Linked DNA regions of Homo sapiens: region 2 is linked to region 1. The links are contacts of gene promoters, found by promoter capture Hi-C in blood cells and fetal thymus (Javierre and others, 2016). All regions are on one chromosome and are shown on one strand. The core of a region is centred on a gene start or on the middle of the fragment in contact, and the rest is flanking DNA. Distances in the headings are between cores, read along the strand shown. Region 1 holds the start of MACC1 (MET transcriptional regulator MACC1). Region 2 overlaps POLR1F (RNA polymerase I subunit F).

Region 1 (5,092 bases), core at 502-3,001:
TCACCAAATGCCATAAGGGATGTTTAGTCTTAATAGACACCTAGGCATATGTGTGGTCTTTCAAGAAAGAATTCTCTAAAAATTCAACAGACATGTCTTCAAGTTCAAAATTAGTATAATTCCAAAATGTCTTTTGTCCTCCAAATCAGCCAATACATTTTAAGATAAGATGGTGTTTAACAAACTTTGCCTTAATAGTTTTTATTATCTCTAAAACACAAACAGATAAAAATATTCTATTTGTAAATTAGCTACAAGGAAGTTGAGAAAACTGGAATAAATAATATTTTTGCTTTAAGTTTTAAAAATGAGTCATAACTAAAGCTTTTAAGCAAATTGTAACTAATAATTATGACTTCATAATTTCTAGATTCTGTACACTACCCATGAAATCATATTAAAAATCGCTATTATGAATAAAAGATAATCATGTAATTAAGTTCAGGGGGGCATAAAAGAATCACCACTGAGGTTAAGACAACTTTAAGAATATACCTGAAATTCATCATTATCACCCAGTAATTGCTATGTAAAAACCAGACATTAACATAGATAAGTCAATATCAATCCTAAATTAGACCCACTGAATATAGACTTAAGACATTTTTAGGAAATTAGGAAGACCTTTAATAAATGGAAGGCATTGGAATTTTCACTACATGCTTTTTGATCTTAAAAATAAATTTTTTAAAATCTATCTTTATTAATTGTGGTAAAAAACTTAACATACAATTTACCATCCTAACCATTTGTAAGTGTTTACACTTACAAATTTTAAGTTCAATAGTATTAAATATATTTACATTATTGTACAGTCTCCAAGTGTTTTCATCTTGTAAACTGAAACTCTATATCCATTAAACAACTCTCATTTCTCCTTCCCCCAAGCCCCTGGCAACTACCATTCTAAGTATCATTTATGTGAGTTTGACTACTCCAGATACCTCAGGTAAGTTGAATCATCCAGTATTTGTCTTTTTGTTTCTTTGGTGTGTTTTCCAAGCTTAATTGAAACTTAATTAGGATGAAGCCAAGTTACCCTCCATCATGTATCATCTGTCTATTCAGTACAATGCACTGTGCTAATTTAATGACCCCCTTAACTTAATTACATGATTATCTTTTATTCATAATTTAATGCTATTAACCTAATGAGGTAGGTTATGCACACACACTTTACAGATGAGGAAACTGAGACTTTGCGAGGTGAAACATCTTGTCAATGGTCATAAATCTAATAAGCAGTGGGGCTGCTGATTGCAACTTTATCTATCTTCAAAGCACAGTCTTTTTAACATACCTGTATGCTTTTTGAGATATTTAAAGTTTTTAGGGGATTTCAGCCATCTACATATTTTAAGCAACTCATAGAGTGTTTTGTTTTTGCCTTTGATGGTTAATGTGACCTGGGTTCCTCCTTTTTTTTAAAATAAACTACTTTATTCTAAACCATGTCTCAAGGTATTATTCTATTCTATGTCATGAGGTTTATTCTAACACATGTCCCATAAGCCCACAGAATACCAGTTACCTTCCCTTTATTTAAGCAGGGCTTGATTTGTTAAGCAGCTGGTTTGTTACATTTTTCTGGAAATTATACAACTTCCTAGTGTGTAGCACATATCAATAGTGAAAGGAATATTATTTTTAAAAAATCAGCACTTACATTTGTGGAAGTGAGCCCAAGCTTCTTCAGTTCAGACACATGGTTTTAGTGAATAGAAGTCACTCTACCAAACCCGGGTACTCTTCAAACATGCCTTGCTCCGTATGCAGGCAGGCAACTGCACCCCTGCTTCCTGAGCCACCTGGGACTTGAAGTTCTACCACTGTGGCTCCAAAGCTGCCCAACTAGAAACCCCAAAAGGCAAGAGAACTACGATACCCACAATTCAGGCTCCTCACCCGAAACCAGAAGAGGGCGTATGGCTAGAGTTTCACCCTAAGAAGAAAGGGGAAGCAGGTGGAAAAGCAATTAAAAAAAAATCAGGTGAGTATATCTAAGAACCATCTGTAAATATAATCTTATTTCCATGAAAGGAAATAAAAGTGGTTTAATGTTTGCCAGGGAGTAAGAAGGCACCCTCAGTGTTAGCAATAAGTAAAAAATATTTATGCAAGCAAATCCTCATGCAGCTGGAACTTGCCCCACCAGATTCTCTTTCGGTGATTCAGAGCTGAAGGTGCCTCACTGCCCTGTGGAACAGGTGAATAAAGCCTTCCCAGGTGAGTGACAGTGTCTAACTAGTTCCCCCTTTCCCTCTACATCAGCACTGTGATTGTCACTCAAAGACATAGACATATAGACATAATGGAGACCTTTTGGCATTTCATCTTCTAAAATGCTCTGGATTTTTAAGATAACACTTTAAAATGTGCCTTTTAAAATATAAGCAAGAATAAAGTTTTCTTGATATTTTCTTCCATTTTACTTTCCATTTCTGTGTTTTGTGTTTTCCTTCTGTGTATTTTGTTCAAAATTCAAGAAAGAGAAAATTAGGGGAAAGGGGAAAAAAGGTAAAACTTAGTGAAATGAAATGTGCAATAATTGTTTCACATTTTTTTCCAACATCAGCAACAGAGAATGTTTAAAACAAATGTGTTTCTCTATTTGTTCATACAGCATCTCTCTCTAGCCTATTATCTCCTGTTAGACACAGCCCAGAAAATGAATAGAGACAAGTCCTGGCTGGGTCTGGGTTCAGAAACATAATAGAAGGATTCATCTAATGTAAGTAGATGGCAGAATGGTGACAAAGAAAAAGTTTCCTTTCCCTTTTCTGCACTTTCTCTCCTACTGTTCTAACCACCCCTTCCTCCCTGATGCATCCCTGGCTTCATGCTGCCAGATCACCTAATCCACCCAGATTCCCTTTGAAGTTTCCCCTTGACTCATCCCACAATCCAAACTGAGCTGTTCTGTTTCTTTTTGTCACAGGTTCCTCAACTCTCTACTAGAACCTAGCTTTCCTTTATGTCATTATATTATTTCCAAAACAAATGGTTCTTAATTTCCCCAAACCCTACAGAGGGCATTCTGCATGGCATTTCTCCTCCCTGAAACCATTTTTGCTCATCTTGAAATGTTCAGAGATTTCATTTTTTCCAAAGCTCAATGAAAAACACTCTTCAAGATGTCCTTCTCAGTTTGTCTTAATCTGAGTTATTCTCTTCCTCCTAATCAATTTCATAATATTGCATCTGCTCCTCTCATAACACATTGTATATCTCATTTCATTGGTTTACATGGGTGTGTGTGTACCTATGCAGTCTTACATTCCTATTTGAAGGCAAGGCCTCATTGTATCCCTACTTCATTAACTCATTAATGTACAAGTAGATGTTTGTGATAAACAATCAACACATAAAATAACTGAGATGTTAACTCTAAGGTGTGTGTGTGTTAATGCCTAATGCCATCTTTATGTCTCCCGGAAAACATTTACATTTAAAAAGCTACCTAAATGCCATGCATGAGTACTGTTATCAGAATCCCCCTGCAGTCTGGTCTGGTGTGGCTCCCACAGCCTTTATTTGCAGAAAGGCAAAGCATTAAATCTAGCAATTGAACCCTTGACAGTACCCGAAATGAAAGCCCTAGTGGGTCAGCACTCACTGTTTACCAGCTCCAATCCCTGCTGTGCACTTGCCTTTCTAACAGCTCCCCAAGGACTGGGCTCCCTAGAGTCCTCAGTCCCATGGTCCTGGAAACCTGGCCCTACCTCTATCTATGATTTTTGATTATCAGCTCCAGCATTTATGGATCCCTTCTCCTATTATCTAATCTACGGGCTCTAAAGATTAAACTGTGCACTTTGGACTATTTAAATAGTTCTTAACCACTGATCTCCTCCCTCAGGGAAGGGAATTCTTTCCACAGTTGCTAGTTCCTCACACCTCTGCCTCTATGGGATTCTCCTGGTCCCCACATGCTCTGCTGTGTCTTCTAGCTGTCGGCCACTGTGGAGGAAGTGAACCTTCTAGATCCTGCTGACTCATACAATGAGTTTTGTGTGGACCATCAGACAAAAGGGCTGGCTGGTGAAGGTGGCTGTTGTCTGGAAATTCCTCCCAGCTCTCCTCTAATTATGTCATAAGGACTGGAGGCCCCTTAGCCTGCTTGTGTGAGTATCACCAGCTATGTAAAGTTGGGGCCTTAGCTCATCCTCAGCACATGGCTCAGGATCACTTCCTTAAGAAAGTCTCTTCTGACCTCCTTACCCCTACCATGTTTCTTGTACTGACTTACGCAATGGTCACAACCAACATAGAAGCTGAAATCCCAATGACTCACTGTCCCAGCTGCGCTTGTAGATAAGGGAGAGGCAAAGCACTTAGAATGGCAATCAGACATGGCTATCTGGGACCAGGAATTAGGAACTGCTGACACAAAGAAGCAGGGACAGAAGAGAACTCACTCTTGTGGTGAGCAGAGGCAGCTGTGCAAACAACCTGCTGTTCCGGATGTGACTGTGGTGGCCGTGGGGTGCAGAGTCCAGGGCTCATGGCGTTGGTCATGCAAATTGTGGTTCCTGGGCCTTAGCAGAAACAAGGAACCTATTCAGTGGCATTGCTTTGGGGGCTGCTCTGGCTTCGTAAGCTGTGTGCCTGATTCTTAAGCCCCTCCCAGCAATTCTGGGACTGAAGTTTGGTGTGTTGCTCTTCGGTTTAGATCTGCCACAGTCATTTGCTGTTGCTTGAAGCTAAAAACTCTGAGTGATACGAACCTCTCACACAACTCTTACCACGTTGTCACTACCTACCCCAGTATATTTAGATTCCATCAGATCAAGTACTGGATTTTATTTATCTCTAAATATCCTAAATCTCCACAGTGCCTGGAGTACATGTATATATATTTGACCTACATTAAACTGGTCAATAAAATGAGGAAGTCTTGCTTAAAGTTCCTTCTAACTTAAAATTTGCCTGACCACATGGAAGCTGTCAGGTTGCTCATTAATGCAGAGGTAATTTTTTTCTCTTAACTAGGGTTAGAATTTAGACTCTACCCCTTCTCTGTATCTCAGAGGGAGCAGAACTAGTGGTTTCCTACACTGGAGAGGGAACTCAAGCACACAAGCTATTGCTT
Region 2 (5,575 bases), core at 2,340-4,839, 510 kb before region 1:
TTAAGTACCTAGTGATAATTACGTAATGATAAACTAACCTTGTGATATTTAGTTTTCCCCGAATGCAGAATACTCCAGCAGCATCTGAGTCTAAACGAAATACTTCAAATTCTAGTTCATCACCCATGTTTATCTCCATGGTTTGCCACTGCTCAGCTGACAACTGCTCAGGTTTAGGAATGGAGGCATTGAAACACCCATGTACTAAACAGCCAATGTGGCTAGAAGACACTTTATTAACTATACCCTGGGAAGAAGAAGGAAGAAAGAGCGTAACATAAAGAACACATCCACAAAGTTAAAAGGTGAACCAAACTTTACAAGCTTCAAATAATCTTCAAAGAACAAACATCAAATTAATGGTCTAATTTAATATGGAAAAAGTTTACCTCAATTAAAACTTACCACATGTCATGCCAAAACATCACTTTAGAATACCACTGGGTTTTGAGAAAGCTCAAACTTTATTATATAAGTAATTGCACATTAACTGTCTAACTGGGCACATTAACTTTCTAACTGGATAAACTAACCTGCCCCCGCCACCCTGTCCAAGAAAAAAAACCATCTCAACTCCCCACTGCAGGATTCCTTAGGGAGGACAGTATTACTCTTTAGCTACATTGAAACCAAGCAAACCCCATATAACTTCTAAAAAGACCTCATATGCGTTTTATAACTGGGATCCATGTTACGTTTCTGTAAATAGACCAAATTTCAAAGCTTAAAAATGCATTCTTTAATTATTTAATTTAGCATGATGCAAGCATTCCATTAGAAGACAGCTTACCCTTTAAATGTAAATATTGACCATGACTATTTTTTGGCTAAATCACGAAAGTATTATTAGAAGCTTTAAAACTAAAACAAAAGTATGTGCTATATGATTTTAAGATGAGACTTTGCATAAAACTTATTTTTCTTCTCAGGGTCAATATATACAAAGCATATAAATGAGACTCAGAAATATTAAAAATTCACATTTTCTGAATTATGAAACTGCAAATAATGCCGATGTGTATACAATGCTGTTTAACATCAGCAACCCTTTACACATGTGACAGAATAAAACTTCCCTATCTGGTATGATCAGAAGTCTAGTGTTCCCACTGGTAGTTTCCAGATGGTCTAGATAAACAAACTGGTACAGCTATAAAATAAAAGATTATTCAGTAATAAAGATAAATAAGTTCTCACCATAAAAAGACATAGCGAAACCTTAAATGCATATTGCTAAGTGAAAGAAGTCAATTTGAAAAGGATACATACTCTATTCTTCTTCTTTAAAAAGGCAAAACTACGGAAACAGTAAAAAGATCAGTGGTTGCCAGGGATTACAGGGAACGGAGGGAAGAAGGGAGAAATGAATAGGTGGAGCACAAGCGGTTTTTAGGAGAGGATAACTATTCCGTATCATACTATAATGGAAGATAAGTTGTTGGGATTCACTCAGGATAGTGGCAGAAATATTAAAGGGAAATATTAGGGAAAGTTATAGGGAATAGTCACAAACCTTTTTGGAAGGCCAAAAGGTTACATAGCTTGTAATAGCTGAACAGGCCGAAGACAGCCGGTTCTTACCTTAGAGCATTAAGTTACAGAGTAAATACTAGGGACAATAGAGGCTTCCCCAGTTAAGTCTGTTTACCCTACCTCTGTTAACTAACCTTTAAGTCAGATGGCCTCTGGGGGGGCAGGGATATTGCCCCCAGTGATATTTACTTTAAACCTCGGTACCTGAGCTTTAATCATTCATAGAACTACTCACTTAACCATGTTAATTATCCAAAAGTGTGTGGACTCAGAGCTTCTGTTGTTAATTGTATACGAAATAAATGCCTGGAGTGTGAACTACTCAGGGCCAGCGGCAGTGACAAACCTCTCTCGGTGTGTAGGCAGTCGGACACTCAGCAGTACTGGCAAAGCAATATCTGTGTGTCAGTGTACGTTTCATTCATCCATCTTTTAGGTCAAGGTCTGCAGGCAGACCCCCGCAGCTAATGCCCTCTTGTGAGGAGCAATACCTCAATAAATGCCATGACACATTTGTGGAAACTCATAGAATGTACAACACAAAGACTGAACTCTAATGTAAACTACAGACTTTACTTGATAATAATGTATCAATATTGGCACAAAAATGGTAACAAATGCACCATACTAATGCAAGTTAATGTTGATAATAGGGGAAAGGGGGTGGTTATATGGGAACTCTATACTCTCCATTCAATTTTTCTGTAAACCTAAAACTGCTGTTAAAAATATGTCAATTTCAGAAAATCAATGAAAGAAAAGGTTTTTTAATATATGAATCCAGAACAACGGGAAAGCTACATGAAGGAGAGAGTGGATCTCAAGGCCTACCTCACACTACACACAAAAATTATTTGAGAATGATCACAGACTTAAATGGAAAAGCTAAAACTAAAAGCTTGTAGAAGTCGACAGAACAGTATCTGCACAACTTTTCGGCAGACAAATTTCTTTGATAGGGTCCAGAAAGCAATAGTCATAAACATATAAAATGATAAATTGGACCTCATCAAAATTAAAAGTAACTGTTCATCAAATAATACCATTACAAGTTAACAGACAAGTCACAGATTGGAAGAAAATATTCAAAATACTTATCTGAAAAGAATTCATTTTAAGACTAAAAAGAACTGCTATAAGTCAATAATAAAAATACAAAAACCCAATTAAAAATGGGCAAAATACTTGAACAGGCCCTTCTTACTGAAATATATGAAAAATTGCTTATGAGGGAAACGGAAATGCAAATTAAAACCATAATGAGATACTACTATATGCCCATCAGTACAATTAAAGGACAATAGCAAATGTTAATAACGATACAGAGTAAATGAAGTGTTGAATGGGAAATCAGTCTGACAATGGTTTTATATAAATACCCTGTGAACTAGCTCTTCTGCTTCTAGTTATTTACTTAAGAGAAATGAAAATGTATGTTTTCATTCATATGTCTGAAAATATATGTTTTCAATAGCTTTATTCATAAAAGCCCCAGCCTGGAATCAATCCATCAATGAAGACAGATAATTATATTGTGATATAGTCATATAACTGAATACCATGAGCAATAAAAAGGAACAAACTACCAATACACACAACAGCATGGATGAAACTCAAAAACATGCTGATCAAAAGGCGGCAGATTTTAAGAATGTATAATGAATAATTCCATTAATATGGAACTATAGAATAAGCAAAACCAACTTATGATAAAATCAGAAGAGTAATTATATCTGCAATAAAGAGAAGGAATTGGGCCAGGAAAGGGCATGAAGATCCTTTCTAAGGAGATGGAATGGTATACAGACCTGACGAAATTCACTGAACTGAACAATATGATCTGTGCATTTTATTATATGTAAATTTTATCTCACCAAATATTAATAATAATAATTGAAGGAAAAGTGGGTGGTCAAAAATATTTGAGGAGTGGATCTTGTAGTAGGTAGATTAAAAGGGATATTTTTCATTTCATACTTTTTCTACAATCTGTTATTTCCATGTACATGTATATATGTTATTTCCGTGTATGTGTGTGTGTATTTTTACAGACAGGGTCTCACTGTTGCCTAGGCTGGAATGCATTGGCGCAATCATAGCTCACTGCAGCCTTGAACCCCTGGGCTCAGGTGATCCTCCTACCCCAGCCTCCTGAGTAACTGGGACTACAGATGCATGCCACCATGACTGGCTAATTTTTTATTTTGTGTAGAGATGAGGTCTCACTATGTTGCCCACGTTGGTCTTAAACTCCTGGCCTCAAGTGATCCTCCTGCCTCAGCTTCCCAAAATGCTGTGATTGTAGGTGTGAGCCACTGTGGCTGGCCTACATGTTTATATTTAAAATAATAATTTACACAAAGTAGATGAAAGTTAAGTTTGTTAATTTCCAAATACAAATCTACTGCCAACTTTAGTAGTCCAGTTATAAGATCCCAGTTTAACAGGCAAAGGATACTACTTGTATTAATTTGATATTGAAAAATGAAAAAAATTGGAAGTGTCTTGTGGGTTTTGTCATGGTTAAATTGATCTATATTTTTATGAACAATATCAAGGGTTAACAGTTCTGATCTATTAAAATATTTATCAGCTAAGGAAAAGAACATATACACACACATACAAGTATACATACGAACATGTGTATACACACAGAGAACTGCTGGAGGAAGAGAGGAGAAAGTAAAGAGTAAAAAAGGATCTATTTCAGCAGATTTTGTATCAATATCTGCATTTCCAGCTTATGAAAAACTGGAAGACCTTTCCCACAGAGCTTCCATTTCCAAGGCACAGACTGGCTGCCCTGTCCTCTGTCATTGATAAATTTTCATTACTGCCTGGCCCATTTGAATTCCTGTTTCATATACTGCTATATTCTTTGAATCCTTTATAAAGAAATAGTATTTGTGTAGAATTGAGAACTTTTGAAATAATAATGATAATTGATTTTTTTGCCCTTAAAATCATTCTGCTACTATGAAAAGAATAAAGTGGATGGGACATATATCGTGTGCATGTATGTGTTTTAGGAGGATATTCAAAAACTTACCTACGTTTGAATGATACAAATTAATTTTTCCTTAAAAATAATATTTATTTACTCACAATAGCAATTTATTTGAGTCCCAAGGTATATATTATCTCTTAAAATGTTCCAAGTTACATAATTATAGAATTATACAAAGGGAGCTAGAAAAAAGTGATACACATACCATAAGCTTCTGCCCTGGTTCAGGGCAGAAAATAACAAAATCGGCTTCAATGTTAAGATGAATGTGTCCTTGATCATCATAAATATCTCCAAGCTCTCCCACAACTTTGATGTTATCATATGCAATAGGGACACCTAAAAGGCTGTAAAAAGAAAAAGTTGAAAATGATACCTTTTATCGTCTTTTATTTATTTATGTTTTTGGAGACAGGGTCTTGCTCTGTCACCCAGGATAGGGTGCAGTGACATCAACAGGGCTCACTGCAGCCTCGACCTCCTGGGCTCAATTGATCCTTCTGCCTCAGCCTCCCAAAGTGCTGAGATTATAGGTGTGCACCACTGCACTCTTTCAAACCAGGCCATTTTCATACTGATTAGATATTCTATCCAAAACTTACACATCTCCTAAATACACCACCTATGTCAAAAACAATAGTATATGATTAGTCTGTAACAACTTTAGTAGTCCCATTTCACCAATGGATTCTGATGTGTTGGCTAAGTTAAAATGATGACTCAAGATACACAGAAACAAAATGCCCAATTAATGCATTAGCAGTAAATCAACTCTTCTTCCCTGGCCAAGTCCCATTCTTTCTATCCTAGCATGACTATTTGAATTCTTCAAGTTATACTAGGATAGAAAGAAGGGACTTAGCAAAGAAAATGTGTATCTCTGTGGACATGACTGAATAAGAGGCAATTTTGGTATTATTCACCATTACTGAATTTCAGTACTTGACGGCGTATAACAAGGGAAGCATTACGGTTAAAGCTGAAGCCCCTGAATTTTAAAGTCAATGACTTAATAGAGAAAATCCCAAACTTCAA

What was found. The method cuts DNA at HindIII sites, captures the fragments that hold promoters and counts their contacts. A CHiCAGO score of 5 or more calls a contact.
Region 2: a fragment that was not itself captured here is called in contact with the fragment with the promoter of MACC1 in region 1 in 3 of 17 cell types (fetal thymus, erythroblasts and total B cells); the score reaches 7.9 in fetal thymus.

What each region holds. Positions count from the first base shown.
Region 1 is chr7:20,215,633-20,220,724 of GRCh38, forward strand. It overlaps MACC1 (MET transcriptional regulator MACC1), which reads right to left and starts at 1,752. Exons shown (of 7, transcript NM_182762.4): 1 at 1,667-1,752. GIRGL (glutamine insufficiency regulator of glutaminase lncRNA) reads left to right here and starts at 1,945. Exons shown (of 4, transcript NR_134569.1): 1 at 1,945-1,990; 2 at 2,624-2,731; 3 at 3,951-4,124. RefSeq lists enhancers at 1,577-2,776, 4,196-4,345, 4,262-4,791, 4,356-4,485. The HindIII fragment of the contact is 5,395 bases long and covers 1,686-5,092 here.
Region 2 is chr7:19,700,034-19,705,608 of GRCh38, forward strand. It overlaps POLR1F (RNA polymerase I subunit F), which reads right to left. Exons shown (of 4, transcript NM_001002926.2): 2 at 4,746-4,887; 3 at 39-247. MIR3146 (microRNA 3146) reads right to left here and starts at 5,403; the gene lies at 5,325-5,403. The HindIII fragment of the contact is 2,320 bases long and covers 2,430-4,749 here.